7 separate regions of the Homo sapiens genome follow, and regions 2, 3, 4, 5, 6 and 7 are each linked to region 1. Evidence: promoter capture Hi-C in 16 types of primary human blood cells and fetal thymus (Javierre and others, 2016). All regions are on one chromosome and are shown on one strand. Each heading gives the region's core, a stretch centred on a gene start or on the middle of the fragment in contact. The rest is flanking DNA. Distances are from core to core; before and after follow the strand shown. Region 1 holds the start of KRTAP4-5 (keratin associated protein 4-5). Region 2 has its middle 5.0 kb from the start of KRT33B. Region 3 holds the start of LOC107985072 (a long non-coding RNA gene). Region 4 holds the start of LOC105371778 (a long non-coding RNA gene). Region 5 overlaps KRT40 (keratin 40). Region 6 holds the start of KRTAP3-2 (keratin associated protein 3-2). Region 7 holds the start of KRTAP29-1 (keratin associated like protein 29-1).

Evidence for each region. Contacts are between HindIII fragments. The CHiCAGO score rates a contact against its expected background, and 5 or more counts as called.
Region 2: a contact is called between a fragment that was not itself captured here and the fragment with the promoter of KRTAP4-5 in region 1, in 4 of 17 cell types (non-activated CD4 T cells, naive CD4 T cells, total CD4 T cells and 1 more). The highest score is 6.2, in non-activated CD4 T cells.
Region 3: a contact is called between a fragment that was not itself captured here and the fragment with the promoter of KRTAP4-5 in region 1, in 1 of 17 cell types (endothelial precursors). The highest score is 5.1, in endothelial precursors.
Region 4: a fragment that was not itself captured here is called in contact with the fragment with the promoter of KRTAP4-5 in region 1 in 1 of 17 cell types (total CD8 T cells); the score reaches 6.8 in total CD8 T cells.
Region 5: a fragment that was not itself captured here is called in contact with the fragment with the promoter of KRTAP4-5 in region 1 in 1 of 17 cell types (endothelial precursors); the score reaches 6.3 in endothelial precursors.
Region 6: a fragment that was not itself captured here is called in contact with the fragment with the promoter of KRTAP4-5 in region 1 in 1 of 17 cell types (endothelial precursors); the score reaches 5.2 in endothelial precursors.
Region 7: the fragment with the promoter of KRTAP29-1 here is called in contact with the fragment with the promoter of KRTAP4-5 in region 1 in 5 of 17 cell types (naive CD8 T cells, total CD8 T cells, naive CD4 T cells and 2 more); the score reaches 6.3 in naive CD8 T cells.

Annotation. Positions count from the first base shown.
Region 1 is chr17:41,147,808-41,151,878 of GRCh38, reverse strand. KRTAP4-5 (keratin associated protein 4-5) reads left to right here and starts at 2,054. Exons shown (of 1, transcript NM_033188.4): 1 at 2,054-2,955. The coding sequence starts at 2,112. The coding sequence ends at 2,657. The HindIII fragment of the contact is 5,677 bases long and covers 1-4,071 here.
Region 2 is chr17:41,372,744-41,376,814 of GRCh38, reverse strand. No RefSeq gene overlaps it. Among named protein-coding and RNA genes, the nearest start is that of KRT33B, 5.0 kb to the right of the region's middle. The HindIII fragment of the contact is 4,497 bases long and covers 178-4,071 here.
Region 3 is chr17:40,928,491-40,932,561 of GRCh38, reverse strand. KRT23 (keratin 23) reads left to right here. Exons shown (of 9, transcript NM_015515.5): 3 at 1,107-1,189; 4 at 2,466-2,622; 5 at 3,955-4,071. It overlaps LOC107985072 (a long non-coding RNA gene), which reads right to left and starts at 3,959. Exons shown (of 4, transcript XR_001752886.2): 1 at 3,880-3,959. The HindIII fragment of the contact is 2,996 bases long and covers 343-3,338 here.
Region 4 is chr17:41,350,701-41,354,771 of GRCh38, reverse strand. LOC105371778 (a long non-coding RNA gene) reads right to left here and starts at 3,275. Exons shown (of 2, transcript XR_001753056.1): 1 at 3,169-3,275; 2 at 974-2,350. It overlaps KRT33A (keratin 33A), which reads left to right and starts at 3,944. Exons shown (of 7, transcript NM_004138.4): 1 at 3,944-4,071. The coding sequence starts at 4,005. The HindIII fragment of the contact is 650 bases long and covers 1,784-2,433 here.
Region 5 is chr17:40,978,774-40,982,844 of GRCh38, reverse strand. It overlaps KRT40 (keratin 40), which reads left to right. Exons shown (of 7, transcript NM_001389244.1): 3 at 382-538; 4 at 1,694-1,855; 5 at 1,935-2,060; 6 at 3,821-4,041. It overlaps LOC107985072 (a long non-coding RNA gene), which reads right to left. Exons shown (of 4, transcript XR_001752886.2): 3 at 2,238-2,396; 4 at 1-517. Among named protein-coding and RNA genes, the nearest start is that of KRT40, 3.5 kb to the left of the region's middle. RefSeq lists an enhancer at 2,238-2,839. The HindIII fragment of the contact is 2,975 bases long and covers 244-3,218 here.
Region 6 is chr17:40,996,217-41,000,287 of GRCh38, reverse strand. It overlaps KRTAP3-2 (keratin associated protein 3-2), which reads left to right and starts at 382. Exons shown (of 1, transcript NM_031959.3): 1 at 382-1,095. The coding sequence starts at 435. The coding sequence ends at 731. The HindIII fragment of the contact is 1,100 bases long and covers 1,536-2,635 here.
Region 7 is chr17:41,301,109-41,305,179 of GRCh38, reverse strand. KRTAP29-1 (keratin associated like protein 29-1) reads left to right here and starts at 2,329. Exons shown (of 1, transcript NM_001257309.1): 1 at 2,329-3,354. The coding sequence starts at 2,329. The coding sequence ends at 3,354. The HindIII fragment of the contact is 6,603 bases long and covers 1,549-4,071 here.

The sequences.
Region 1 (4,071 bases), core at 805-3,304:
AAGAGTCAAGAGATAACCTACAGAATGGGAGAAAATATTTATAAAGTATATATCTCATAAGGGGTTAACATCCAAAATACAAAAGGAGCTCAAACAGCTCACAAGCAAGAAAACAAAAACCTGATTAAAAATGGGCAAAAGACCTGACTAGACATTTCTCAAAAGAAGACATACAAATGGCTAACAGGTTTGTGAAAAAGTACTCAACATTACTAATCATTAGGGAAATACAAATCGAAACCACATTGAGATATCACCTTATTCCTGTTAGAATGGTTATCATCAAAAAGACAAAAGATGACAAGTATTGGCAAGGATGTGAAAAAAACTCCCTCGTACACTGTTGGTGGGAATATAAATTAGTTCAGCCATTATGGAAAACAATATAAGGGTTCCTCAAAAAATTAAAACTGGAATTACCGTATTATCCAGCAATCCACTTCTGGGTACCTTATATATCTACAGGAAATGAACTTAGTATGTTGAAGAAATAACTGCATGTCCAGATTTATTGCAGCACTATTCACAATTGCCAAGATATGCACACAGTGCAAGTGTCCACCAATGAGTAAGGGGATAAAGAAAATGCAGTATATACTCAGTGCAATACTATTTGGCCGTAAAAAGACGGAAGTTCTGTCATTTGTGACAACATGGATACATCTCAAGGAAATTATGCTAAGTGAAGTAAATCAGTCATAGAAAGACAGATAGCACATGATCTCACTCACATGATCGCACTCAAAAAAGTTGATATCATAGAAGTAGAGCAGAGAATGAAGATAATCAGAGGCTAGGGGTGGCTAGGGAGTCAGGGGCTTGAGGAGATACTGGTCAAAAGACATATAATTGTAGCTAGACAGGAAGAATCAGTTCAAGAGGTCTACTGTATAGCATAGTGACTATAGTTAATGATGATATATTGTACATACTGTATTCTTGAAAAATTCTAAGAATGGATATTAAGCGTTCTCACCACAAAAAAATGATAGGTATGAGAGGTAATGCATTTATTAGCTAGATTTAATCCTTCCACAATGTATATATACTTCAAAATATTATGTTGTATGTGGTAAATACAATATTATACGTCAATCTGAAAAATAACTAATTGTTTTTAATTTCACTGAGCTTGAGTTCTTTCTATATTAAGCACATCATGCAAGACACAGTAGTGGGGGTAGATAGATTCTTAAAAGTATTATACAGGTGTTACACAGTGTTAGGGAGCCTGGGTGAAGTACAGACAGCCTCTCCTGGGACTGTTTGTTACAGCTGTATGTAAATCTACAATTATCTCAAATTTCTTTTTTAAAAAGTGAAAACACACACCTGCATTATGTTAACAGACAGTTAGAGGCATTTAAAAAAAACAATGAGTTATGGAATAAAAATGGGACTATGTCTTCCGGAATCTAATAGATTAACTGGAGAGACATGACACAAAATATAGGAGAGCAAAGTATCAATTTAAGAAACTGACCCATTAGTAACACCAAGTATAAAAATTTAAGGATATGGAATATGACCCAAAATTTGAAACATTCAGGGAAACCCATTTCAATAGTGTAGAGGTCACCAAGGCCACATGCAGGTATTGCTATCCCTTTGCTTATTGCTTAATAATGACCCACAGACTAGGAATGCCACACTGAGCAGATGGGTTTTCCTCGCTATTGGTCACTAGAGGGAATGCATAACTGGAAGTGTGACTGACCAAATCCCATTTTGGTAGAGGGTACCTGAAGCGAGAGTAAGAAATGCAATTCCAAATGCAGGGAATCACATGAACAGCCCTCTGTGGAGGAAGAGGAAGAGAACGTGGTCTAGAAGATGCTACCGAGGTGTGAATCATGAGAGAAGGCAGACATGATAGATCTTATTACATCCGGACAAGAAAATTTTGTTTTCAACAAGTTTAAACCATTAAATGGGCAAACATTATTGTGTAATCTGATAATCACTTAGTTATTAAGTAAACAAAAACAAGGAAAATGTAGTACCAACAAGACAGCTGGGCAGTATATAAGAGGCTGTGGCCCAAGGACACTTCCAAACTTGAGAACCTCATTCTTCTAGAAATCCACCCAGAACCTCCACCCTCTGACACCATGGTCAGCTCCTGTTGTGGCTCTGTCAGCTCTGAGCAGAGCTGTGGCCTGGAGAACTGCTGCCGCCCCAGCTGCTGCCAGACCACCTGCTGCAGGACCACCTGCTGCCGCCCCAGCTGCTGCAAGCCCCAGTGCTGCCAGTCTGTGTGCTACCAGCCCACCTGCTGCCACCCTAGCTGCTGCATCTCCAGCTGCTGCCGCCCCTATTGCTGTGAATCCAGCTGCTGCCGCCCCTGCTGCTGCCAGACCACCTGCTGCAGGACCACCTGCTGCAGGACCACCTGCTGCTGCCCCAGCTGCTGTGTGTCCAGCTGCTGCAGACCCCAGTGCTGCCAGTCTGTGTGCTGCCAGCCCACTTGCTGCCGTCCCAGCTGCTGCATCTCCAGCTGCTGCCACCCCTCTTGCTGTGAATCCAGCTGCTGCCGCCCCTGCTGCTGCGTGCGTCCAGTCTGTGGCCGAGTCTCCTGCCACACCACTTGCTATCGCCCAACCTGTGTCATCTCCACCTGCCCCCGCCCCTTGTGCTGTGCCTCCTCTTGCTGCTAATGTCTCCTTGTGATATTTGTCATACTATGAATGTCTTCATTAGTCATTTAAAATGCACTGTAGCCAGCCAGTCACTGGAAAAATGAACACTTCCCTGCCAGTTTGTCTCATGTGGCATTCAGAGTGGACATTCAGCTCTTCTAGGAAATGACAGACAATCACATTCATTAAAATATGTTATGCCAGGCCCCAATGCAGTTATTTTTAGATGAGCAGTGTCTTCATTCGAAGGGGACACTAACTGTGATGATCTCATATAATATTGTTTTCATGTATTAATAAACAGCCACTTCCCTAATATTGAAATCTTCTGATTTGTTAGTGATCTCATTGTGCGTGTGTGTGTGTGTGTGTGTGTGTCTTTACCTGTCAGTTCACATCAAGGGCCATCTCTCTTCAAATGCAGGAGAGCATGTTTAAGAGCCTGGGCTCTTGATTCATGTTCCCTGCATTGGAATCACGACTCCCCTAGGTATTTGTTGCGTGGCATGGGGCAAGTTTTTTAACCTCCTCAGGCCTCAGTTTTCTTTCTCTGTGAATAGAGATAATGCATTACATTCTTTAAATGTTAAGAGACATAACCCATGTAATATACTCACCACAGGGCCTGGTACATAATGCAGTATAGGCTCTTAATGGATACAGTTTCTGGCCGAGCGTGGTGGCTCACATTTGCAATCCCAGCACTTTGGGAGGCTGAGTGGGTGGAACACTTGAGGCCAGGAATTCGAGACCAGTGTGGGCAACATAGTGAAATCCCTTCTCTACTGAAAGTACAAAAATTAGTTGGGCGTGTTGGTGCACACCTGTAGTCCCAGCTACTTGGGAGGCTGAAGCAGGTGAATCACTTGAACCCAGGAGGAGGAGGTTGCAGTGAGCCGAGATCATGTCACTGCACTCCAGCCTGGGTGACAGAGCAACTCTGTCTCAATAAATAAATAAATAAATAAATAAATAAATAAATAAATAAATACAATTTCTGCTGTTACTATGATTGAAACAATACCCTGGGCTAGAATAATATCTTAGCATAATTTTCTTTTTGACAGAACAGCAAGAAAATTTGTATCATTGTTGCGCTGTCTTCTACAACTCAAAATTAAGTTTTGGTATATGCCTCAAGTGTCCCTTAAAAACTCCAGCAAGTTGAACATCATGAAGTCATCTACATTTTGTCTGACTGTATTTCTACTTCCAGTATGTTCCATTATTTGTTGTGGAAATTTTGAGTGTTTTCCCTAGCTCAAGTACTTTTTTCTTGTTTCCTTACTTCCCCCTCCCTCCCCTTCTAATCCCTTTACCTTCCCTCCACCTCCCCTCCCCTTGCCTGCCTACCTGCCTTCCTTCCTTCCTTCCTTCTTTCCTTCCTTCCTTCCTTCCTTCCTTCCTTCCTTCCTTCCTTCCTCCCTCACTC
Region 2 (4,071 bases), core at 1,177-3,676, 220 kb before region 1:
CAAGTTTATTCTTTCCCCTAGATCTTTGGTCTTATCCATAATGTTCTTCCATAGCCTCTTTATCATTTCATTTTCTATAATTCCAAGAAAGGCCAATGTTCATTAAACATCTCCCCCAAAACATTAATCTTACCCCACACCCCACCCCACTTGCCTCATCCCTGAATTTTTAAAGCTTTCAATTTTATAGGCCAGTCTCAATTATCCATTTTATTTAATCCTATCTGATTGACACAACTGCAATCAATCATCTATAGTGTGTGCTGGGTACTGTGGGCGGTACTGAGAAACACAAATAAGTGAATCCCAGTCTCGGCCCACAGCATGTTTTACAGTTTAGAGTGGATGAGACAAAGCTACAGTCATCATAGACAAATATCAGTGTGGCTCAAGAAAGGTGCAGATAAAGAATTACGAATTTCAGATGTGTGAGAGAATGAAAAGAAGAGGCTCCAAGAAGGAGGGAGCACTCAATCAAAGCCTTGAAAACCCAAATGTTCTGTTGATATAAATTTTGTCTGCCTGTCTTGTTGACTGCAGGCCCTTCAGCAGAGGCAATATCATCACCTAATTAAAGACGATGTAAACCATGGAATACTGTAAGTGGAATAAATAAGGAAGAGTAACACTAATGAAAATTCATGAGAAGGTTATTAAAACTTTATATACTTCCCATAGTTTCAACTTCAATCAATGATTACTGTATGATATTAGCATAATTCTGAAATAAAGTTTGCTGGGAAATGTCTGGTCAGGTGAGTGTGTTTAGGCCATAGAAGAGGGAAAGTTTTGGCCAGGTGCAGTGGCTCACGCCTGTAATCCCAGCACTTTGGGAGGCTGAGGCAGGTGGATCACGAGGTCAGGAGATTGAGACCATCCTGGCTAACACGGTGAAACCCCATCTGTATTGAAAATACAAAAAAAAAAAAAAAAAAAAATTAGCCAGGCATGGTGGCACACACCTGTAGTCCCAGCTACTCAGGAGGCTGAGGCAGGGGAATAGCTTGAACCCAGGAGGCGGAGGTTGCAGTGAGCCAAGATCGTGCCACTGCACTCCAGCCTGGATGATAGAGTGAGACTCTGTCTCAAAAAAAAAAAAGAAGAGGGAAAGTTTTCCTGAGCATGAACTTTGCCTGGAGGAGTTATGAGGTGTGTTTAGAAATTGACAACCCAATCCCTAGCCTAGAACAGAGGGTAAGTGTGGTTATAGGAGATGAAACTGCAAGGTAGTTAGGTACGGCCATATTTGGAAGTGCTCCGAATGATTATACATGAGATTTTCTTGTAAGGGAGTTTGCCATATGATATATCTGGCAGCTGTGTACAGGTTGGGTTGTGAGGAGTCCTAGAAGCTGGATGAAATAGAAGGAAGATCAATTAAGAGGTGAGAGACAATAAGGACTGAGATAAGTGGAGGAGAGTGAGGCCAAAGAGGGGTAGGTTTTAGAGGCATGGCTTAAATATGGAAGCTGAGTAGAGATAGAGGAACAATGGAAAGAAAAGGAAGGAAACTAGTACTGATCACACACTGTATTAGGGTTATCCAGAGAAACAGAAACAGTAGGCTATGTATAGATACATAGAAAGAGATTTATTATAAGGAATTAGCTTATATGATTATGGAGGCTGAGAAGTTTCATAATCTGCTGTCTTCAAGGTGGAGGCCCAGGAAAGCCAGTGGTATAATTCCAATCCAAACCCAAAGGACTGAGAATCAGGAAGGCTGGTGGTGTAAGTCCTGGTTTGAGACTGAAGGCTCAAGAACTGGGAGCATTGATGTTAGAGGGCAGGAGAAGATGGATGTCCCAGCTCAACTCTATTCCCATTGGGAGTGCAGGACTGAGTGTAAGAGAAACAGTGATGGCTCTGGAGAGGGTTTGTGGAACTAGATCCCGAGTTCCGTTTTGAGGTGTCCGTGTCTGTCTTTGCTCAGCATAGCTTACTACTGACCTGGCCTATTCTCCAGACCCTCTCCTGCTTCTCCCTTACCGGTCAATGAGAGAAATAATTTGCCTTTCTTCTACTTTTTGGTTCTATTTGACTACCCACATTGGAGGACACCTGCCCACATTGGTGAGGGTGATCTTTACTCACTCTCCTGATTCAAATGCTGATCTCTTTTAGAAACACCTTTACACACATACCCAGAAATAATGTTTTACCAGCTATCTGGGCATCCCTTGGCCCAGTCAAGTTGATACATTAAATTAACCATCACAAACACCTACTATGGGTCTGAAGATTTTCAGCCTGAGAAAATGAAACAACAATGAGTTTCCATTGGAGAGACCTGGAGAAGAATAACTAGATTTGAGGGAGATGTCGGAGAGCTGGGTAAATAAAGATGATAATTAGAGCTATAGGAATTGTTAAGACTGTCCAATGGAGGCTAGCAGGGAATAGAAGAACCTTGAGGACCACTGATAGAAACCACAGACTTCAGCTGGGGCTCTCCAAAGTCCCTGATGTGAGGTTCAGCCTTGGTTTTGCCAGATCTTGAGGACAGAGATGACATCTGGTTGCAAGCAGTTTGAGAGGGAAGTGGAGAAGCACCTTAAAGGACACAGAAGTCAAAAGAAGTTGGAGCTCTAATGAAAGAGTTGTCAACAGCATCCAGGGCAAGGATGGTGAGAATCAGACAAATCTACTGGTTAAAGCAATGGGGAGACTCCTGGTGATTATAAAGAGAACAGAGTCTGTGGGAGGCTGAGGGAAGAAGCTGTATTTCCATGTTTTTTTCATGTCTGTCTCAAATCACCAACGTGATAGTGAGTGTAATGCAAAAGTTCAACACAACACATTTGTACTCAGCTGACTTTGCTTTATCTTCTGTGTACTGTCAAAAGGTTTTAGCATCTGCCCTCTCCCTTGATCTGCAGAGCAGGACACATATATAGGTTTTCATTCCATCTCTGAGTGGGCCCTGGATCCAGCTTTTTCAGGAAGACTAGCACCATTAAATTACATCGTCCTGGATTGTGTCATGCTCTTGTCTATTCTAGACTGAGTTGATAGTCTAGAGTAGTCAAAAACATAGCATAGATCTCGTGGGAGCTGAATGATGAGAACACGTGGACATATAGAGGGGAACAACACACACTGGAGCCTTCTGGAGGGTAGAGGGTGGGAGGAGGGAGAGGATCAGGAAAAATAACTAATGGGTACTAGGCTTAATACCTGGGTGATGAAATAATCTGTAAAACAAACTCCCATGACACAAGTTTATCTATGTAACAAACCTGCACTTGTATCCCTCAACTTAAAATAAAAGTTAAAAAAAAACACATAGCATAGATGAACTTTGTATTTTTCTGACTTGGCTTGGTCCCTGAAGACTCCAAGACTCCATTCCCATTGGGAGTCCAAGACTGAGTGTAAGAGAAACATGGTGGCTCTGGAGAGGATTTGTAGAACTACCTCCTGAGTTCCATTTTGAGGTGTTTGTATCTGTTTTTGCTCAGCGTAGCTTACTGCTGACCTGGCTCATTCTTCAGCCCCTCTCCTGCTTGTCCCTTATCAGAAGCCCCATTGAACAGGGCCAAACTTGTTGGCTTATTTCCTGAATTACCCCTTCAATTTCTCCTCTCAATGTCCTGAGGCTGGAGGATTGATAAATTGACAACAGTTGCCTTTATGGAACAGTTTGTGGAAGCCCTATCTTCTGCTCTTCTAGGAAGCTCTAACAGGCTGGCCCAAAACCATGGGCTGGGGTTGTTATTGGACAGTCTTTCTGCTTTTCTAATTCCCCTCTGGGATCCCTCTTTGGCAAAAAGTCCATCTTCTTGCTCTGTGTGCATGTAGTGATACTGCTCCTGGCCTCTCCTTCTCATTTGTACATATTAAAATATAATTAATTTTCAAGTAGCCCAATGTAACTTCGTATTTCTAAAAGAATAAATTTTACATTTCTCACGGTGACAATTTCAAGCACCAGAGCCTGGACATTGGAGAAGATGGCTTTGGGAAGAAGGAGGGAGGCCTCCTAATGCCTTTGAAGTCCCACAATGAGGAAGGTGGCCTCAGCAGAAGCCCCATCCTATGTCCACTCCGTGGTTAAGCATCGCTGGTGGG
Region 3 (4,071 bases), core at 591-3,090, 220 kb after region 1:
TGGAGAGTAGAGTGATGCAGCCTGATGCATCCACATGGATGGTCAAGAACAGAGCCAGAACCAAAGAAAAGCTCTAAGTTTCTAGTCCAGCACAACACTTGGCGTAAAAGCATTATTACACTTTTGACAACGAGACATCTTCTACCCTAAAGACAGTGACATACATCAAATGTGTGCTATTTCTCTGACTATAACATACCTACAAGTGTTTACAAATCATAAATGTATACACACTTGCTCGAGTAAGTGCTTTCAATACTATTTTTCTTTTCAAAGTAAAAAAAAAATTATACGAACATCTAGTGAAAGTCTTTAACTGGAGGCTTTACCACTACTGAAGCTTCTTAAGCATTTTCCTTAGATGGTAAGGAATTATTTCAGTTAATATTTTAATAGCTACAATGAGCACATTCTCATCACAGAATAAGTTGCAATGACATAAACACACCTTCAAGTTACAGTCACTTCGGGCAAAAAAAAAATGTGTTCTGTGATGACTATTACAAAATACATTGAATATTAGTGTTAGCGTTGCTCAGTAACACTGATTAGAAACATGATTGCTATCACAAGTAAGAATTATGTTCACCTGAAATAATAATTTTTGTATTTTTGGAGGGCTGAACTAATTAAAAGTAATGGCAAAAATCACTTTTTCACCAACCTAATACAATAAGAAAAGGATCAGAACCTAAAGTCCTTTTAACATCTTCAGCTGTGGATGAGCTTAATTAAGCAAAATGCTATGACATGTCCATAACCTAAAAAGTTAGAGGGCATTTTGAACAATTACTGTCCTTCCCCTTCCTATATCATTCTTTCAGCAGTTGCATCAATCCAAGCCTGTCAAAACTCAACATAAAAAGAAAAAAGGCAGTAACACTGACTGCAGATCATATTCTTATTTTAAAATCATTCTGCTTTGCACCTAGTATGTGCTCACTAAGCATTTACTGATTCGGTTATTCATTGTTCCACTGCCAGAACAAGAAGTTGTCTGTACTAACAAGTCAAATATTCAGGAAGCTAGAGGACAGACATGCAGCGGTCATGTGTGGGTGTGTCCAAGTGAGATAACCTTTTGTGCTTTTGTGCATGTTTTACAGATAGTGGATGGTAAGATGACCAATGCTCAGATTATTCTTCTCATTGACAATGCCAGGATGGCAGTGGATGACTTCAACCTCAAGTAAGTTCCTTCTTCACAGGGTTGTTCGGGTTTTTGTTTGTTTGCTTTACAAAAGGAAAACTCGGCGGGGCGCGGTGGCTCACACCTGTAATCCCAGCACTTTGGGAGGCCAAGGCGGGCGGATCACGAGGTCAAGAGATCGAGACCATCCTGGCCAACATGGTGAAACCCCATCTCTACTAAAAATACAAAAATTAGCTGGGCATGGTGGCACACGCCTGTAGTCCCAGCTACTCGGGAGGCTGAGGCAGGAGAATCACTTGAACCCAGGAGGTGGAGGTTGCAGTGAGCCAAGATCACGCCACTAACACTCCAGCCTGGCAACAGAGTGAGACTCCATCTCAAAAAAAAAAAAAAAAAGGAAAACTCATCTTGCCATTACCCGCATCTAAAATCTTATAATGAAAAGGCATAGCAACGGCAAATGCACTGTGTGTTACTTGAATGAACCTTAGTTTAAACAAATCAGATATAAAGCACATTATAGTATGGGGAAGTTTGAATATGAATCAAGAATTAGATGATATTAAAGGGTTGTTATTAATGTTTAGGTGTAGTGTTATGTTTATTTTATTTATTTATTTATTTATTTATTTATTTGTTTATTTTTGAGACGGAGTCTTGCTCTGTTGCCAGGCTGTAGTGTAGTGGCGTGATCTCGGCTCACTGCAACCTCTGCCTTCCAGGTTCAAGCGATTCTCCTGCCTCAGCCTCCCAAGTAGCTGGGACTATAGGTGCACACCACCATGCCCAGCTAATTTTTGCATTTTTAGTAGCAACAGGGTTTCACCATGTTGGCCAGGATGGTCTCAATCTCTTGGCCTCGTGATCCGCCCGCCTCAGCCTCCCAAAGTACTGGGATTACAGGTGTGAGCCACCGTGCCCGGCCTGTTTATTTTAAAATATATTTTTCTTAAAAGATGCATCCTGAAGTATTTAGTCTTAAAATGTCATCACATCTATAATCTGCTTTAAAATACTTCAGCAATGAAATAGATGAAGCAAATATGGCAAAACATTCATGGTTGCTAAATATAGATAATGGGTATATGACTGTTTATTATCCTATTCTCCCTACTCAATTTAAAAGTTGACATTGAGTCACCATCATGGAGAAGTGTAGCATGAAACTGGCATAAAAAAGACATCCTATATGTATTCATTTGCTCTCTTTAAACCTAAAAAGTAAAAGATTCACCTCTAAATGAAAATGAATCCTTTCAAAAACCATGGCCTTCCAACAATGAGTGCACTCTTCTCTTCCTTCTCACCAAAGGTATGAAAATGAACACTCCTTTAAGAAAGACTTGGAAATTGAAGTCGAGGGCCTCCGAAGGACCTTAGACAACCTGACCATTGTCACAACAGACCTAGAACAGGAGGTGGAAGGAATGAGGAAAGAGCTCATTCTCATGAAGAAGCACCATGAGCAGGTACAACTCCCCAGGAACACCTGCTAATAAGCACAGCTCTTAGCCTGCACATCTCAGGCTGATTCGACAGCTACAGAAGAAACCACCACCTGGATGCCAATCCCCTTGTCCTTCACCCTAAATAGTCTTTAGAAAAACATACAAATATCTAATGTTTCTAATTTCAAGGTTAGCTAGTCACATGTCAAATACAACAACCAAAATGCAATCATAATTAATGATGAATTGGTCAACAGTTTTGTTAATACACAATGTTTACCTAGATGTGCTTGTTAATGTTACTATAAGAATCAATGCGTGAGACTGGACTTCCATCACTGGCCCAATGTTCAGCAAGTTAGGGGACAATATAATGAAGAGAGTCTGCTACCAACCAAGATAAGTGTGATGTGGGGCAAAAATAAAGAATCCTAATTTCCAGAAGCATTTAACTGACTTTTAGAGTTACCATCCATCACAAGTCCTCAAGACTCTGATAAAATGATAGAAAAACAGTTCCCATTTTAGGAAAACAAAATTGCTTCTCAACATCAAAGAGCTCAGTTTCTGAATAGCTGGTTAGACAATGATTGTTAATTAAACCTTTCCTGTGGCTGCTTGGTTTTCATGAAATCCTATGGGCGTCAGCCCTACAGTGTCACAAGGCATTGATGAGATTTTGAAAGCCTCTACACCTTCTTTCTGCTGTTTGCCTCTTGAACTGCTTCCCAAAAGCTTTGGCCTATAGCCTGTAAGGTTCAGCTGCTTAACTATGTTGTCACTTCACCAATCCACATCTGCTGAACAGGACTTTGCACACTATGGAAGCATAATTCTTTCTGAAATATTTTCAACCACGGATCAAGTCAGTAATCATGGAGGCTATTTGATTACCTGCCTTATGATATTCTTTTTTTTTTTTTTTTTTTTTTTGGAGACAGGGTCTCACTCTGTCACCCAGGCTGGAGTGCAGTGGCGCAATCTCGGCTCACTGCAGCCTCCACCTCGCAGGTTCAAGCGATTCTCCTGCCTCAGCCTCCCAAGTAGCTGGGATTAAAGGTGTGTACAACCACACCCAGTTAATTTTTTGTATTTTTAGTAGAGACAGGGTTTCTCCATGCTGGTCAGGTTGGTCTCAAAGATATTCTTTATTTTATAAAATTATTAGAGAAAAAAGTATACAATGTTTTATCACCAACAAGTAAGTAATATTTGAGAAACCAAACCAGTGACAGTGGGAGCAACCACATAATCGGAATGTTTAAAAGATCTATTTACCACTGCCAATCAACATGGCAATCCAGCCTTCTGATTGTCAAAGCCGGTTCATTTCCTTTCTCTGTTATTAAATAGGAAATGGAGAAGCATCATGTGCCAAGTGACTTCAATGTCAATGTGAAGGTGGATACAGGTCCCAGGGAAGATCTGATTAAGGTCCTGGAGGATATGAGACAAGAATATGAGCTTATA
Region 4 (4,071 bases), core at 859-3,358, 200 kb before region 1:
ACTCTTTCACAAGCTCTCTGCAAGTTTGGGCAAGTCACTTCCCCTTTTGGGTCAAAGTTATCCCATTTTTAAAATGAAAGAGTTGAGTGAAATGACCAGTTAGGTCCTTGGTAACTCCAGCATGCTAAGCCTGTAGGCTTTATCTGACTTAGATAGTATTTCCAGAAAAGAAATTTAATTATCCCTTATGTGTATGTGGGAAGTATAGTCTATGGATGCGGGTCAATATGAGGTGGTTCTAGCAGCCAATCTTGGACCATGGGCTAGCAGTCAATGGCAGAATGTTTCTCCAAGGGTTACTCCTCCTTGTCTTCTCCTTCACCCGAAGCTCAGACCTCATGCCAGTCAATTCATGAGCTATAGGTAGCTTGATTTCCCTTCATTCCTTCTTAGTAGCTCACCTTTGGAATGGACAAAGTCAGCAGATATCACAAGGGCATGAATGCCGATCACAACAAAGACTTTATTTCTAGAACAGGCTCAAGTGTAATGTAGTAATTATATTGGAACAGGAGCCTCCTAGGCTTTTTTTTTTTAATAACTCATTGTTCCTCTAGAAGATTTGCAAGAATTTCCTTCTGAAATTTTAAATGTAAATTTTATTTTGTTTATTGTGCAGAAGTAACATATATTTTCAAAGAATTTGGAGAGAAGAAAAAAAACATTCATAATCCTGTCATTTAATAGCATCCAGTGTCATTGTGGTGTGTTTTCTTTAATCTCTCAATTGTCCCCATTTTAATAATAGTTTAATTTTGTTGTGACTATCTTTTGTGTACCTTACTCTGGATAAGCATATTGCTGTCGAGTAGGGTCACCATTGTTTGACCAATTGTTCTAAGTTGCTCCAAACAGATGGGATATAATCTATATCTGATGGGATATAATTATGTTTAAATTACTCCAAATTGTTGGTATATAATTGTATCATCAACTTAGAAATAATTGAAATCAGAGAGTTAACAAGAAACTGTACTATTGCTGAATTCTATCTTTATTTACACATTGACTCATAATTCTTCTTCAACACAGCATATCTATGGTTAACAAGATGTTTTTCTCACTGCCCTTGATTTCTGTCCTTAGGTAATAACAGATCAGATTGTTTGTGAAATTCTTCAACATTTCAGTAGAATGGTGATTGGGCTGATAATGCAGTGGGAATCAGAAGATCTGGGTCCTAGCTAGATGATACTAAGCAAGGCATTTCTCCATTCTGAGCCTCAGTTTCCCCTTCGTAAAACGAACGGTTTGGATGAGTTGACCATTAGGATCCCCAATATCTTGTTCCAAGATTTTCCCTCTCTCTTTTAACCATTTTCATATTTAGGATCTATGTTAGGAGGTAAGAGGGAGGAAGAGAAGAGCCAAATGCAAAGCCATCTGGTTTTTGGTCTGTAGCTGTAGCTGGGAGGCTTGGAAGCTGCTTGGATTGGTAGCTGTAGCTGGGAGGCTTGGAATCTGTTGTCTGCTTTATCCTCTGCTAGCAAGGACATAGGAAGCCCCTCCTCTTTCTGGCCAATGTATGCCTCCTCAGGCCCATACTTGAATTTTTTCCTCATTGCCTCTTTAGGATATCAAATAAGGCTCATCTTACATCTTGTGACAAAACAGAAGTGGTGTCATATGCACGGTCAGTTCAGATTACTCATGCTTCTTGGATAATTGTTCCTAAATAATAAACTATTACGAATCATCAAGTTCAAACAAGTCTGGCATCTGCGTAAAGCCCACTCCAATTATTGTATAAAAGTCTGTATTGGTAAGATCAAAGCTCCAAGCTTAATAATCAGATATATAAATTTATTGCAGCAGAACTTCTCTAAGTAATGAACATCTCAATTCTGTGTGTTTGAAGTCTTGGTTTACCGAAGTTCACTGTGGGCATTACTTTAAGAATGTGCACAGGCGCTGCGTACAGCAGGCATACCTGTGTGACCCTGGAAAGGTCCTGGTAAATTTCTGGTCAAGGCAGCCAATACCCTCTCCATGGTCCTGATCATGTGCGGCCCCTTTGCTGCACTTGGCACTTCTAACATCACCTCCTCTTGGAAGCACCCTCCTTCCTGCCCTTCTGGGATGCCATGAACTTGTTTTTATCATTTTTTTCTCACCATTTCTCCATTTATCACAGATTCTTTTTCCTTCTCCTGATCTCTGATTGGGAAATTCTCCAAAGTTTGGTCCTCAGCTCCTTGTTGCTCTTCTCTTTGTACTCTCCCTTGGCCCAGTTCTCTAACTCTCTCACTTGTACTAAACCTTATCTGTATCATCATCCCTGCCATAAATTCTAGTCTTGCATGGACTGTTGCAATAGTCTCTTTGCTGAACTCTTTGCCTCCAATCTTTCCTTCATTTTTCAAAAACAGATAAATATTTGCTAAAACATTTCCTAAAACACCTTTTGTCACACCACACTTAGGTTCAAAAGCTTATACTGGCTCTACAGCTTCTGGGGAAGTCCAAGCTGCTCCACTTCACCATCGAGACCCCCTACCATAGGGTCCCCATACAATCCCCCATAAAGCTTTAATTTCTAGCACTTCCCTTCACAACTCTCCCCTTCCTGCTGCCTAGACTTACCCTGGTCCTTCAACCATGCCTTGGGCTTTCCCACCCCATTCCTGTGTGCACATTATTCTCCTCACCTGCACTTCCTACTTTTCTCCCCTCTGCTTCTTAGAAGCCTCCCTATCCCAGCACAAATCCATTCATCCATTCCTAAGAGCCTCCAATCCTGGAGCTGCTCGCCCTCCCCAGTGTGTAAACCACTCAGTTATCACTTGTCAACTTCTGCCTCAGATTATTATTTCCTGTTCATCCCTTCATCACTCTACCCACACCCATTCAACAGTGCCTACCAGGTGCCTAGAGCTGGGGATTCAAAGACAAACTAGACCCTGCCCTTGCCTTCAGGGACCTCAAATAGAGACAGAGAGACAAGCACATAAGTCATGACAGTGTCATGCTCAAGGTAAAAAGAGAGCTTGGAGAGGAGAAAGGGACGGCCTGTCTGAAGAAGGGAAGGAAGTAAGCCATTTATATTTAAGCCAAGTGTTGTGATGAAAAGAAAAGTGATCTGCTTTGGAATCCTAGGTCCACAACTTATTATCCTCACCCTCTATGCCTTGGTGTTCTCATCTATAAAATGGGAATTATACAGTTTACCTTTAAGAGTTCTGGTGAGGAATAATGGACATCTAAGTTCTGCATGTTTGAGGATCATGTTTGTAAAAAGGATCTAGTTTGTGAAAAGTGTCCACACTACCTTGGGCTTGTGCAGTTTCTTAACAAGTAAGAACTTCTTCTGACCATAGCATTGAGTCCTATTTTCCACCCCTCCCAGTGTCTATTACATCGCCCTGGATGAAATTGTCATAGTGGATATCTATTATTTGGTTGATTGACGTCATCATGGACATGAAAAAAGCCCATCATATCAGGAAACATGGCCATCAGGAACTGTCCCAGAAAGGATCTATTCCTCTTTCTGAGAACCATGAATTTGGAATTTGGCACTTGGAAATGTGACCTAGCAAAAGACACAGGGCAAGAGCTATGCTTTTCCATTTCACCAAGGAGAGCCAGAGCTTGCCAAAGAGTTAGGGGCCTCAAGCCACAAAGCAGAACAGCAATACTGTCTCTTGACCTGCTGCACCCCACTGAAGAAGGCCAGGGCTTTCATGAGTCCAGGTCTTTGAAGTCACACCATGAAGCTCTTACATCATGACACACAGCATGGAAGAGGAGTCCCGACTTAGCGAGAAGCCCAAGTAAAGTATTTTATGAGGGGAGAGACTCTTCTGAAGAAACACAACAAATGGAGGGAAGGGCTTTTGACAATCACCAAATGAGCAAAAAAAAAAAAAAAAAAAAGGGGTTGTCTTACGTGTCCACACCCTCCATGGACGAGGTATAAATGCTCCCTGGAGGAAGGAGACCCACCGCTCTACAACCTGGAGATTTTGGACTCTGTCTTCAGCTGGACACTCCCTCCCTGCACCATGTCTTACAGTTGTGGCCTGCCCAGCCTGAGCTGCCGCACCAGCTGCTCCTCCCGGCCCTGTGTGC
Region 5 (4,071 bases), core at 482-2,981, 170 kb after region 1:
TTTAGTAGAGACAGGGTTTCACCATGTGGGCCAGGTTGGTCTCGAACTCCTGACCTCAGGTGATCTGCCCGCCTTGGCCTCCCAAAGTGCTGGGATTACAGGCATGAGCCACCACGCCCGGCTTTAATTTTAATTTGAAAATAACTTATGGCTCTCTCTCTCTCAATCTCTCTCTCTCACACACACACACACACACAAATATTCTCTATATAATATTTTAAAGTTAAGAATGTTTTAAAAGCTTGAATTTATCATTACTTAGGAATTAAGAGAAATTATGCACATGGCTTCCTGAAGTCCGTGTGTCGATCCTCCATGTATCCCCACACTTTGCACAGCGTTCAGCAAAGTAAGCGTTGGATTTCTCTTTTGCTGTGAAAGGTACGAGAGTGAACTGTCCCTTCGCCAGCTGTTAGAGGCTGACATCAGCAGCCTGCATGGGATCCTGGAGGAACTGACCCTGTGCAAATCTGATCTGGAGGCCCATGTGGAGTCTCTGAAGGAAGATCTCCTTTGCCTTAAGAAAAACCATGAAGAGGTAAGGAAAGTGGCAACTCCGCTGAAGGACTCCGAGAGTAACGTACTTACATTGACAGATGATCTGTTGATGTTTGTAAATCGAATTTGGGCAGATGTTGTTTAAGCTGGAATAAAACTACTTGAGGCAGGGCCAGGCATGGTGGCTCACACCTGTAATCCAAGCACTTTGGGAGGCTGAGGCAGGAGGATCACAAGGTCAGGAGTTCGAGACCAGCCTGACCAATATGATGAAACCTCATCTCTACTAAAAATACAAAAATTAGCTGGGCATGGTGGCAGGCGCCTGTAGTCCTAGCTACTCGGGAGGCTGAGGCAGGAGAATCACTTGAACTCAGGAGGCGGAGGTTGCAGTGAGCCGAGATCTTACCACTGCACTCCAGCCTGGGTGACAGGGCGAGACTCCATCTCAAAAAACAAACAAACAAACAAACAAACAAAAACTACTCGAGGCATTATTACTATTCAACCTGATCATTCCAGTGTGTCTCTGATTTAAGGTGTGAAATAACCCCTAGACAGCGCCAGAGGAAGGAATCAAACTCTTCTCCTGCCCTTGCCTTTGTGGAGGAGGTAACTTCACAAATGGCTTCCTTTGGAGGCTTTATGCCACCCCTAGCTCCAGTCCACAGGGTATGAAAATCAGGCTGAGGAACAGACTGTGAAGTCCATTTCAAAAAAGGGATAAAGACTGTGCACTATCTGGACCAGTGTTTTTAAATATTCCGCATTTATAAACTTCTAAAAATCATAAAATATACAGCCACTGATATATTGATAAAGCTAGAAAATGAAAAGCTGAATGATGTAACAAAGTACATTTGCTCTTTGAACGTTTGTTGATGACAATCATAGCTAACATTTATTGACACCTTACTATGTGTCATAATTAACTTTTATAAGTTAATTATGTGTAGATTGACTCTTCTAGATCTCACAATAACTTTCTGGAAAAATGTCCAATTATTATGTCCATTTTACAGACGAAGAAACTGAGGCCCTTCTAAGTGGTGAAAAGAGATTCAGCCCAGGCAATCTGAATCAAAATCTCACACTTTTACCCACTGCTCCAAAAAACAGAAGTAGAATGCCATTGGATGTCAAATGGATTTTTCCCCACCATTCTGTGACATTCTTTACACCATCCCACTTTCAGGAAGTCAACTTGCTTCGTGAACAGCTTGGCGACCGCCTCAGTGTGGAGCTGGACACTGCCCCCACCCTTGACCTCAACAGGGTCCTGGATGAGATGCGCTGTCAGTGTGAAACGGTGCTTGCCAACAATCGCAGAGAAGCTGAAGAATGGTTGGCTGTTCAGGTCAGTACCCAGATTGAAAAAATGTCAGGCTTACAGACTTCTGCCTTTTTTGAATTCTCTAATGGTGTCTGTGTTTCAGACAGAAGAGCTGAATCAGCAGCAACTGTCCAGCGCGGAGCAGCTGCAGGGCTGCCAGATGGAGATCTTGGAACTGAAACGCACAGCCAGTGCTCTGGAAATTGAGCTCCAAGCACAGCAAAGCCTGGTGCGTGAGGCAAAGGCAGTGTCCGTTGTGTCACTGATAAGTCAGGCCCTGAGATGTTAAGCCCTCTTCCATATCCGAGGATCACATTTCCTTGCCTTTCCCGAGTACTGCCGTTTACCCAGCTATTAATAGAAGCAGAAGTGACAGGTCCACAGCTTGTCCTCTAAGATGCCTTACCTTCACTCCTGGGCTTGAGTCTGATGCTGCAGCAGCCTCCAGAGACAGGGAGGGAGAAGCAGAGCTGGAGAGAAACCTCCGGGCCATGGTCGCTTAAGCATTCTGGCAGGTTTTAATTCTCATTTGATTCAGGCCAGTTTTCCAGGCTCACTGTTATATCTAAAACAAAGAATCATTTTCAAACATTTCATCCTACAGTTTCCCAGGATCTACACTTCAACCTTATCCTTCACTGCACCACCCCCCACTCAAGCAACAGGAACACCATGCGTTCAAGATGACATGAACCAGTTCTGGTCAAGCACCACTGTGTGCATGTCATTAGGCCCTGCGGAGAACACCTAGAAGAACAATAGCTGAGCATTCATCCTGTGAGAGGCACTATGCTGATTTAAGGCTCACAGTAACTTTACCGGATAGATACCTTTATCCCATGACACAGATAAGGAAAACTGAGACTCAGATTAAGTAACTTGCAAAGGATGCAATTCTAAGAGGCAAACTTGGAAGCTGAGTTCAGCCAGTTGAATCCCAGAGTCTCTTCTCTCTCTCTTTTTAAATTTATTTTTATTGATATATAATATGCGTAAATTTTTTTTACGTAGATGTGATATTTTGTTACATGCATAGAATGTGTAATGATCAAGTCAGGATATTTAGAGCATCCATCACCTCAAGTATTTATCATTTCTATGTGTTGGGAGCATTTCAAGTCCTCCCATCTAGCTATTTTGAAATGCACAGTGTATTGTTGTTAACTGTAGTCACACTTCTCTGCTGTCCAACATGAAAACATATTCTTTCTGTCTAACTGTATGTTTGCACCCATTAACCAACCTCTCTTCATCCCCTTACCACACATATGCCAGTCCCAGCCTCTGGTATCCAGAGCCTCTTCTCTTAATAGCACTATACTACCCCTCCCTGCCAAGAGCCCAAACTCAATCTTTCCTCTCATATGTTGTGGATAGTCCTTAAGCTTCACAAATATGTCATGTATTGCTGTAGTCATAGTGGTGGTAGTGATAGTTGACACGTAGAACAGTGGCAGTATGGCTGGCACTGTTCTAAATGCTTTACGCACATTAACTCTTTTTTTTTTTTTTTGGACGGAGTCTCCCTCTGTCGCCCAGGCTGGAGTGCAATGGCATGATCTTGACTTACTGCAAGCTTTGCCTCCCGGGTTCACACCATTCTCCTGAGTAGCTGGGACTACAGGCGTCCACCACCGTACCCAGCTAATTTTTTATATTTTTAGTAGAGACGGGGTTTCACCGTGTTAGCCAGGATGGTCTCGATCTTCTGACCTTGTGATCCGCCCGCCTCGGCCTCCCAAAGTGCTGGGATTACAGGCCTGAGCCACCGCGCCCAGCCCGCATATTAACTCTTAATCTTCACAACCGTCTAATGAAACAGATACTTTGTATTCTCCACTATACAGAGAATAAAACTGAGACTCACAGAAGCTAAATAATTTGCCAGTGGTCACATAGCTAGAAAAGGGTAAGCAGGAATTTGAAAGTAGGCACTCTGGCCCGAGAGACTGCACTTCATGGTCCTTTGGACAATGTTTCCTCCCGCAGACAGAATCTCTGGAATGCACCGTGGCAGAAACCGAGGCCCAGTACAGCTCCCAGCTGGCCCAAATTCAGTGTCTGATCGATAACCTGGAGAACCAGCTGGCCGAGATCCGCTGCGACCTGGAGCGACAGAACCAGGAGTACCAGGTGCTCCTGGACGTGAAGGCCCGGCTGGAGGGTGAGATCAACACGTACTGGGGCCTGCTGGACAGCGAGGACAGCAGGCAAGTTCCACAGTTACTCATGAAATCCCC
Region 6 (4,071 bases), core at 836-3,335, 150 kb after region 1:
TACTCATTCTGAAATTAGTCATTAGAAATCACATTATCCATAGTATTTTAAATTAAGAGGGAAAAACAAGAAGAGTTTGGCCTCCAAAATTACAGCTGAATTGTCACTTGGATTGATTACCCATAAAAGTCATATAAGGTTTGGCATGCCAGAAACCTGTGAAGACAAAATGTGATGATCTTGTGACAAAAATGACAAGTCAATGAGTCAAAAATATGATTAACTTAATAAGAGCGGGAACTCTTAATGGACATGTAAATGACAAACTGATTAGAGAATCTCAGTGAAAAAGGGTGCCATAAACAAAACAGGAAGGCTTCCAGTTGGACCAATGCCCACTTGGGAGGGTATATAAGAGCCCTAACAAAAGAGGAGACATTTGTACCTCAGAATCCTCATCTAAGAAACTGAAAGCTAACCAGACGCCCATTGCCATGGATTGCTGTGCCTCTCGCAGCTGCAGTGTCCCCACTGGGCCTGCCACCACCATCTGCTCCTCCGACAAATCCTGCCGCTGTGGAGTCTGCCTGCCCAGCACCTGCCCACACACAGTTTGGTTACTGGAGCCCATCTGCTGTGACAACTGTCCCCCACCCTGCCACATTCCTCAGCCCTGCGTGCCCACCTGCTTCCTGCTCAACTCCTGCCAGCCAACTCCGGGCCTGGAGACCCTCAACCTCACCACCTTCACTCAGCCCTGCTGTGAGCCCTGCCTCCCAAGAGGCTGCTGATGGATGGCTACTTTGCTCAGTGCCCGACAACGAAGAATCCAGAAGCTGTCCCTTCAGTATTCACTTGCCTCAGTAGTTTGCCAGATGTTAAGGTAGACCAGATGACCCAGATATGAAGAACTTACCTTTGGTTTTAATGGGGGAAAAAAAGAAAAGTATTTTTTATGGTTATTTAGCTGAAAAACCATTTGGTTCCTGTGGGCAGGTGAATGAGTTTTATTAGCAAAATACTGTTTCAATCTTTAAGACCTCAGATTACATGTTCTTGATCATATTGCTTCCTGGCTCTTGTTTCTTGTACTGGGTATTTTCATAGAAGAAAATTTCTTGGTGGGTTTTCCAATAAACTATATTTCTCTGGCAAGATGTGTCATTTGTTTATGTTAGTTTTGGGTATATTTCTTCCATTTTAAAAAGGTAAAAACAGGATGATTATTTTAATCTTTTAAAGAAGACTCTATTGGCAGAATGACTAACATTCTTGCTACTACTAACATGGCTTGCTAACTTTTAACAGGTTCTCTTTCATGTTTGCCTTCTCTTCTCTCTTCTTCCTCAGACAAGTGCAATTTTGGTGTGAACCAACATTTATTTATCTACTCTTCACCAGTAAATTATTGATTTAGTCCTTAAAACAGCACTAATGGATAAGAAAAAATGAAGTTTTAAGCGTTATTCAACATTCTGAAAGTCATAAAGTTAATTACTTAGAAAATCAGAATTCAGCCTCTTGTATGTCTGACTCTAAAGCCCAATTTTTCCTACCACATCATAGAACCTTCAATACTAATGAAACCAGAAGCTTAATGAGCACAGTTATGAAATAAACCCAAAATATGCAAGAGAAATAAAACATGTAAGATTCTTTAACAAAATCCACATCGGATTATAATAGAAAAAGAGTACATTGGTTCATAGATTAAAATTGGCAAGTATTCAATTCTAAAATCTGGGCATTTTGAAGGTGTACCTATTTCAACTTCATTTTCTCTTAGAGAGAACTCAAAGTGGTCAACTCTAGTAACAAGGCACCAGGGACATACCTTTATTTGCCACCATACTCAGCACAGATGTTCTACCACAGTAATCAATAGAATGCCAATACTTTTCAGGTGTCTCAGGTTGAGAGCTAAAACTCTGATTACGTATGCTTTAATTCGTTACTTAATTTTATCAACCTACTTAATTTTATCTCATGAAGATTTTTCTTTTCCAAGCCTAGAGAGAACAAGTATATATTATATATATAATACATCCAATACATTTATGTAACACATATAAATATATGTGTGTATGTATATCTATACACAATACATATATAAAGACACAAGTCAAAATCTGAAAATGCATTGAAATAAAACCACAAGAAGACATGCAAGAAACAGAGTAGGACAAGGAAGGGGAGAAGCAAATGCTTTTTAACAAACTTGTTTTAAAATGTCCTCAATGTACCTGTTAGTGTCTTGAGAGAGAAATTTCTCACGGGATTCCATAGGCTTTTTACAGCTCAACCTTAAATGAACAGAACTTAGCAGCCATGGAGTCTATGGGACACTACAGAGGATATTGTCAACAAGAGATCTAGTCCATTCACTCATTCATTTGTCCATATTTCCTGAGTGTTTGCCCTATGTCAGGCATCATATTGATGCCAGGAGTAAAAAGATAAAAGAAATGCTATTACCTCAAGTCTCAAGTGCCCTCAAGTCTCTCCCAAATCTAGTGAAGAAGAAAGACAAGTTATCATAATAATAATTGCAATGCTGAGGGATTCTGCTGTGACTGGGAGGTGAGCAGCATGGCATGCAAGCATACAGAAAGAATAACTAAAACCCTGATTTGGTGATTCAGTGTCAAAGGTGAGAAATAGCTACGGAAAGCCTCTGAGCTATCCAGTCTAAGCTTTAAAAGATGAATAGGCAGCAGGAGAGGTAGGGAACAGTTGTTCCAGACAGAATAGCAGCTTAATAAATCATGGAGGCAGCGGAAAGGTTGGTGTCTTTAAGCCACAGGAGGTAGTTGGGAATGACTGGATGAACAATGCATTGAAGAGGGTGAGGCAGAGAAGACAGAAATGCAAAGACCCAGACATAAGGGGCTCCTCAAAGCAAAGGGGTTTGGACTGAAACTTTGAAGCAATGAAATATTTCAAGCAAGAGACCAATATAATCATGTTTTGCTTCTGTCTCTTTTCATTATTAATCTTTGATTTACATCTGCACTGTCCCAGATCCCTCCATTGACTATAGAAAGATATAATTAAAACTGGACTTCTTGGATGTGTGAGTGTGCGTGTGCGTATGTGTGTGTGTGTCTAGATTTTTAGCACCCCGAAAATCTACCATCTCATCAAGAATCACCATGTTTTTCCTACATTCACTTAAAGAAAAAAGATACGCGTTGTTTTTAAAAATAAAATGCTTAGTATCTCTGACACATAGTTTAAACTTCCATTTCTAACCACATAAAAGGTAGCTCAATCCCAATAGGTCCTATATTTAGTTTTTAACACACTGGCTCCCGAACCATCTAAGGCAAATCATCTCACCTCTCTATGAATCACTGTCATCATTTATAAACAAAGGAGAGTAATTCTCAGGTCTCTTAGACCACTGCAGAGAAAATACATTTTAATAAAGTGCTGCAAGTCTTGTCAATAAAAGAGAAGAGCTTATTATAATAAACTTGTTGCATTACAACTGTTTGTAATCTGTAACCTTGTCTTATTTATGATTAGAGAAACACAATGTGCTGCATAAACAGTAATAGTTGCTCTAAGCTTTTATGGTGAACTCAAAGTAATATTGTATCCCAGGTAAGAAGCTGATAGCTTTCTGCCATGAAATTCTAATCCTGAGGGTCTGCAAGCCATGTTTCCTTTGTAATGTTTCCCTCAAAATAATTTTTTCTTTTATTTTTTGTCTTTTACTCTTTTTCTTTCCTATTATAATGTATAATAGCAGCAGCTTATAATAATATGTTATGTGTATGAAAAATTCTTCCACCAAACTGTAAACTTCATGAGGGCAAGGATGGTGCCTATCTTGTTTATTGCTATAAATCCAACATTTATCACAGTGACTAGCACATAGTAACTGCTCAGTAAATGTCTGTTGAATTACTTTTTAAATAATAAGTGAAATACTAATCAGTTCTAAGTAAAAGGGTGCACACTTCGGCAGGCATTCATACAAAGATAAATCTGGGGAAAGTCCAGGAACCAGAAGATATCATGAATTCTCCCTTTCAATCAGAGCCATAGGGAGCTTTTCAAATTTTTAGGTTTGTTAATTTATATGCCAACCACTTTCTCTAATCGTAGATGTGATTATTTATTTAT
Region 7 (4,071 bases), core at 1,080-3,579, 150 kb before region 1:
TCATGGCTAATAAGTAACATGCAAATGACTAAAACCCAGTTCTTTCCAAAGCCTAGGTTCTGTATGGATCATGATATGTCTCAATGTGGTCACAGGTGTCTTTGTTGATACACTAGGTGTTTTTAGTGCCTTGAACTACAGCAAGACAGATGTTCTTGCTATTAAGAGTTTCCTTTAGGAGAAAAGAAAACAAGAGCAGAATCACTTAGAGAAAAATGGATGTAGAATGGATTGCTTTAAAACTATAAAAGTGGTATAGGATATTGGACTGAAGTTGATGTGATTTTTCAAACATGCTCATGTTCCCAGTTTGATTGACATATTTGGTAAGACTGAAAGTATTAAATACATCCTCTGGGAAGATGAAGAGCTTTGGGGGTAAATATTCAGCAATAAAACACAGTGCATGGATTCCTGCAGATTGAAAGATGCCAACATGAATACAGACAAGAAGGAGGGCAAAAGAAGTGATCCATGGTGTGACATAGAAACCAACTGTGGGGAAAAAGGCATTTCAATGGCAGGGGAGAAGGTTTTCCAGACATTGTTCTGATCAAAAATGTTTCTCTTCTTTTTAAAATGGAGGTGAAGAGGGTGCCAAGGAGAAGGCATTTTGTAGCTGGGGGTTTGCAAAGTACCCTTCAGCGTTTTCAGTATTTTCAATAATTTGTGAAGCAACCAAAGCAAACAAACACCCACAAAAAACTAACCTGAGACATGACAACGCAGTTGATGAAATCGCCATACTTTGAAGACTTAGGTAATTAGCTAACATATTCAACAGAATGAGTTAGTGGCAGAGCCAGAAATCAAGGCCAGCCCCATCTGGCTCCCCACACCGTGATCTTTCCACTCCGTCATGTGCCTCCAGCGTGAACCGGCCAGAACGTTGGCTGGTGTAGAACACCGGACCTGGTTGGTGATGCGGAGCCAGGACAAGCCCGGAGGAAAAGCAGAAGGGCCAAGAAAGTCCCTCACGAATTCCTCTTGGAAGGGATTGGTTTAACATTAACACCACTTTACAGTGATTTTTTTTATTATCACTGCTGGCGTGTTTTTATTTGTATAGAATTCATATGCTATTGATGCCCTAGGGTGGGTTTGATACTTCCTGATGAAATATTTGGTAGTTTAAAAAATTTCCAAAATTAAAAGACTGTGTTTGAGTGTATTGATAAGTAGAGGTAAGTACTCACACCAGTGTGGTCTAGCTGCTGATTACAGTCACTGGAGTGGGCGGAGGATCCCCAGGATGGGGCCTGGGCAACCTGCTCACGAGCCAGTCTGTTGCCATAGGGGTGTCAGCCTGCAGCCACTATATCAGTGTCGCCTTCTCCCTGCCTCCCCAAAGTCAGGGGGTCTAATAGGTGGTTAAGATCAGGGGTTTGGTGGTCAGACAAAGCTAGGTTTGAATTTTGTTTCTACCCCTTTTCATTTGCATAATTTTGGGAACATGATTTAAACTCTATGAGTTTTGCCACTTCTGTTTTCTTCTTTTCTGTTCTAAAAAAATCTTGAGAGGAACCAATTTGGGGGAGATTTTAAGCTTCCTAAAAGGGCCAATGAAGTTTTATATTTTAATCTTAACTTTGTTTTAAACCTGGTTTCTTCTTTATTTATTACTTTTTTTTAGTTTTGCCACTTCTAACATAGTGATGACAATTATACTTACTGAAGTCATTGTGAGGATCCAGTGAAAAATGCAGCCAAGGACTTGATCTAGTAACTATGCAATAAATGAAAGCCATTTCTATTGTTATTATTAGTAATAGTACTAGTAAACAAGTTTCAGGAATGATAAATGGGAAGGTTTTAAAAAGAGGTAGAGGCACTTAAGTGTCCCTGGGTTCCTTGGACTAATTTTCCATTTCCCGTCTTGACATCCTCTCCCCAAACTGGGTCAAGGCTTCATTTCTGATTGAATGGTGCAAAGCTGCATTCCTGGAGGAACAGCAGGGCCACTCTGGCTTGGCAGAGGCCTCCTGATGAAAGGTTAGTGCCAGGAAAGGCCTGCTTCAGTGAGGCTGGAGAGCAACCTGTAAAAGAGACAGCTCATCCAAGAGCAGGAGCAGTGTCAACGAATCCAAATGCAGCGCAGAAAACTCCCGACTCAACAGACACCTTTTCAAAGTTGAAACATCTCCCAGGCTCCTGAAGCCTGCTAATCAGATGTTTGCATGCAAATGAGTAAAAACAATAACAAGGAAAGATGCTGCATGGCGTGCCAACACCCCTAGTGAAGGACTATAAAAGCCCCTCTGTATCGGATGTCTTTCCAATGCAGGTATACTGAGCTTGCAACTTCCCAGCAAGGTCAGCACCAGCACCATGGCAGACGGCTGTTGTCCTGGAAACACCACAGCCATTCCAGCTGTGCCCACCATCACCACATACCCAGTTAAAGGTGGATTTCGACATGCTCTCTGTTTGCCTAGTTCCTGCCACAGCAGAATGTGGCAACTGGTCACATGCCAAGAAAGCTGTCAGCCATCCATTGGTGCCCCAAGTGGCTGTGATCCTGCTTCGTGTCAACCTACCCGCCTTCCAGCAACGTCTTGTGTGGGTTTTGTTTGCCAACCTATGTGCTCCCACGCAGCCTGCTATCAGTCTGGCACTGGTCAGTCTCCTTGTCTGGTTAGCTCATGTCAGCCATCCTGCTCGGAATCTACTTGTTGTCAGGAAAAGTGCTGCGATGCCAGTCCCTGCCAGCAAAGCTCCTGCCAGGAATCTGTCTGCATGTCTGGATCATGTCAGGCAGCTTGTGGCCAATCAGTCTGCTGTGATGCTGGATCCTGCCAGCCATCCTGCTCTGAAGTGACCTCCTGTCCGGAAACTTCTTGCCTACCAACCATCTGTACAGCTAGTCCATGCCAACCAACTTGGTGCCAAGGAAGTTCATGTCAACCCGTCAGTGGTGAAGGCCAGCCCTGTAAATCAACTTATTATCAACCCATCTGCTATATTTTCAAGCCTTGCCAATCAGCCCTCTACATGCCTGTTCCCTGCCAGCCATCGACTTGTGTGTTCAGTTCTTGCAATACTACTTGCTGTGTGCCTTCCCATTGCCAGCCACCTCACTGCCAACTGGTTCCTTCCACATGCTTCATCTACCAGCCAGTGGCTAACTGCCAGGCCCCTTGTTCCACAAAGAACTGTTGCAAACCAGCTTCTTGTGACACTGTGATTTCTGGCCAACCAACTTGTGATGGACCCCCTTCCTATAACCAGAGTGGCTGCAAATCAGCTTGCTGTGTGACTGGTTTAGGCACATCACCCAGTAGTGGCTCCAATTGCTTGCCGACTTCATGCCAACCCAGCTGTGAGTCCAGCTTCTGCAAGGCAACACTTTGTTAATGGAGCCCTCTTCACACCTCCTCTGAGGGTCTGCGGCTGTCTATAAATGCATAGCCATCCCTGGGTGCCTGCCTCCCACCGAGTACAAATGCTGCCTGCTTTCTAACTTTACCCTGATTCCACCTTCACATTCTCTCCAGGTGCTGACCAGGGAACTTGTCCAGGCACGAAGAGATCCTTCTTAACCGAGAATAACCTTTCAGCAACCATGGACTACCACACTGCTGCTTGCATTTCCTGATGATGTCAATTCATTTCACTTTAGCAAACCCTCTCTTGTTTCTCTTTCTTGATGCTGCCTGGTCTTTCAGAAGACCTCGTTGCTGCCAGCTGCTAATAAAAATGTGACTGGTTAAGTATAATAAATAAGACTCCTGGAGTGCTTTCATTCCTACACACACCTCTATGTAGATTTCCTTCAGGTCACATTTGAACACAATGAGCCTGAGTCATCTAAGTCAGTGGGTCTGCATTGGTCTGCAAGGGTAGCTAGTGTCTAGGATTATAGATTCTCCAGCTGGACGAGAGTAAGGGCAAACAGTTCACTGGCTTCCAAAATTTTCACCACCAAGAGTTCTTTTGAGCTGAGTGGGCTCATTTTCCCTATAGTGAGTAGACAGGAAGCCAACAACAAAAATGGTTCTGGAAAGCCACAGATGAAAACAAACATGAGGTATTGGCCATAGAGAATAGCTTAGGGTTAATTCATTTAAGATT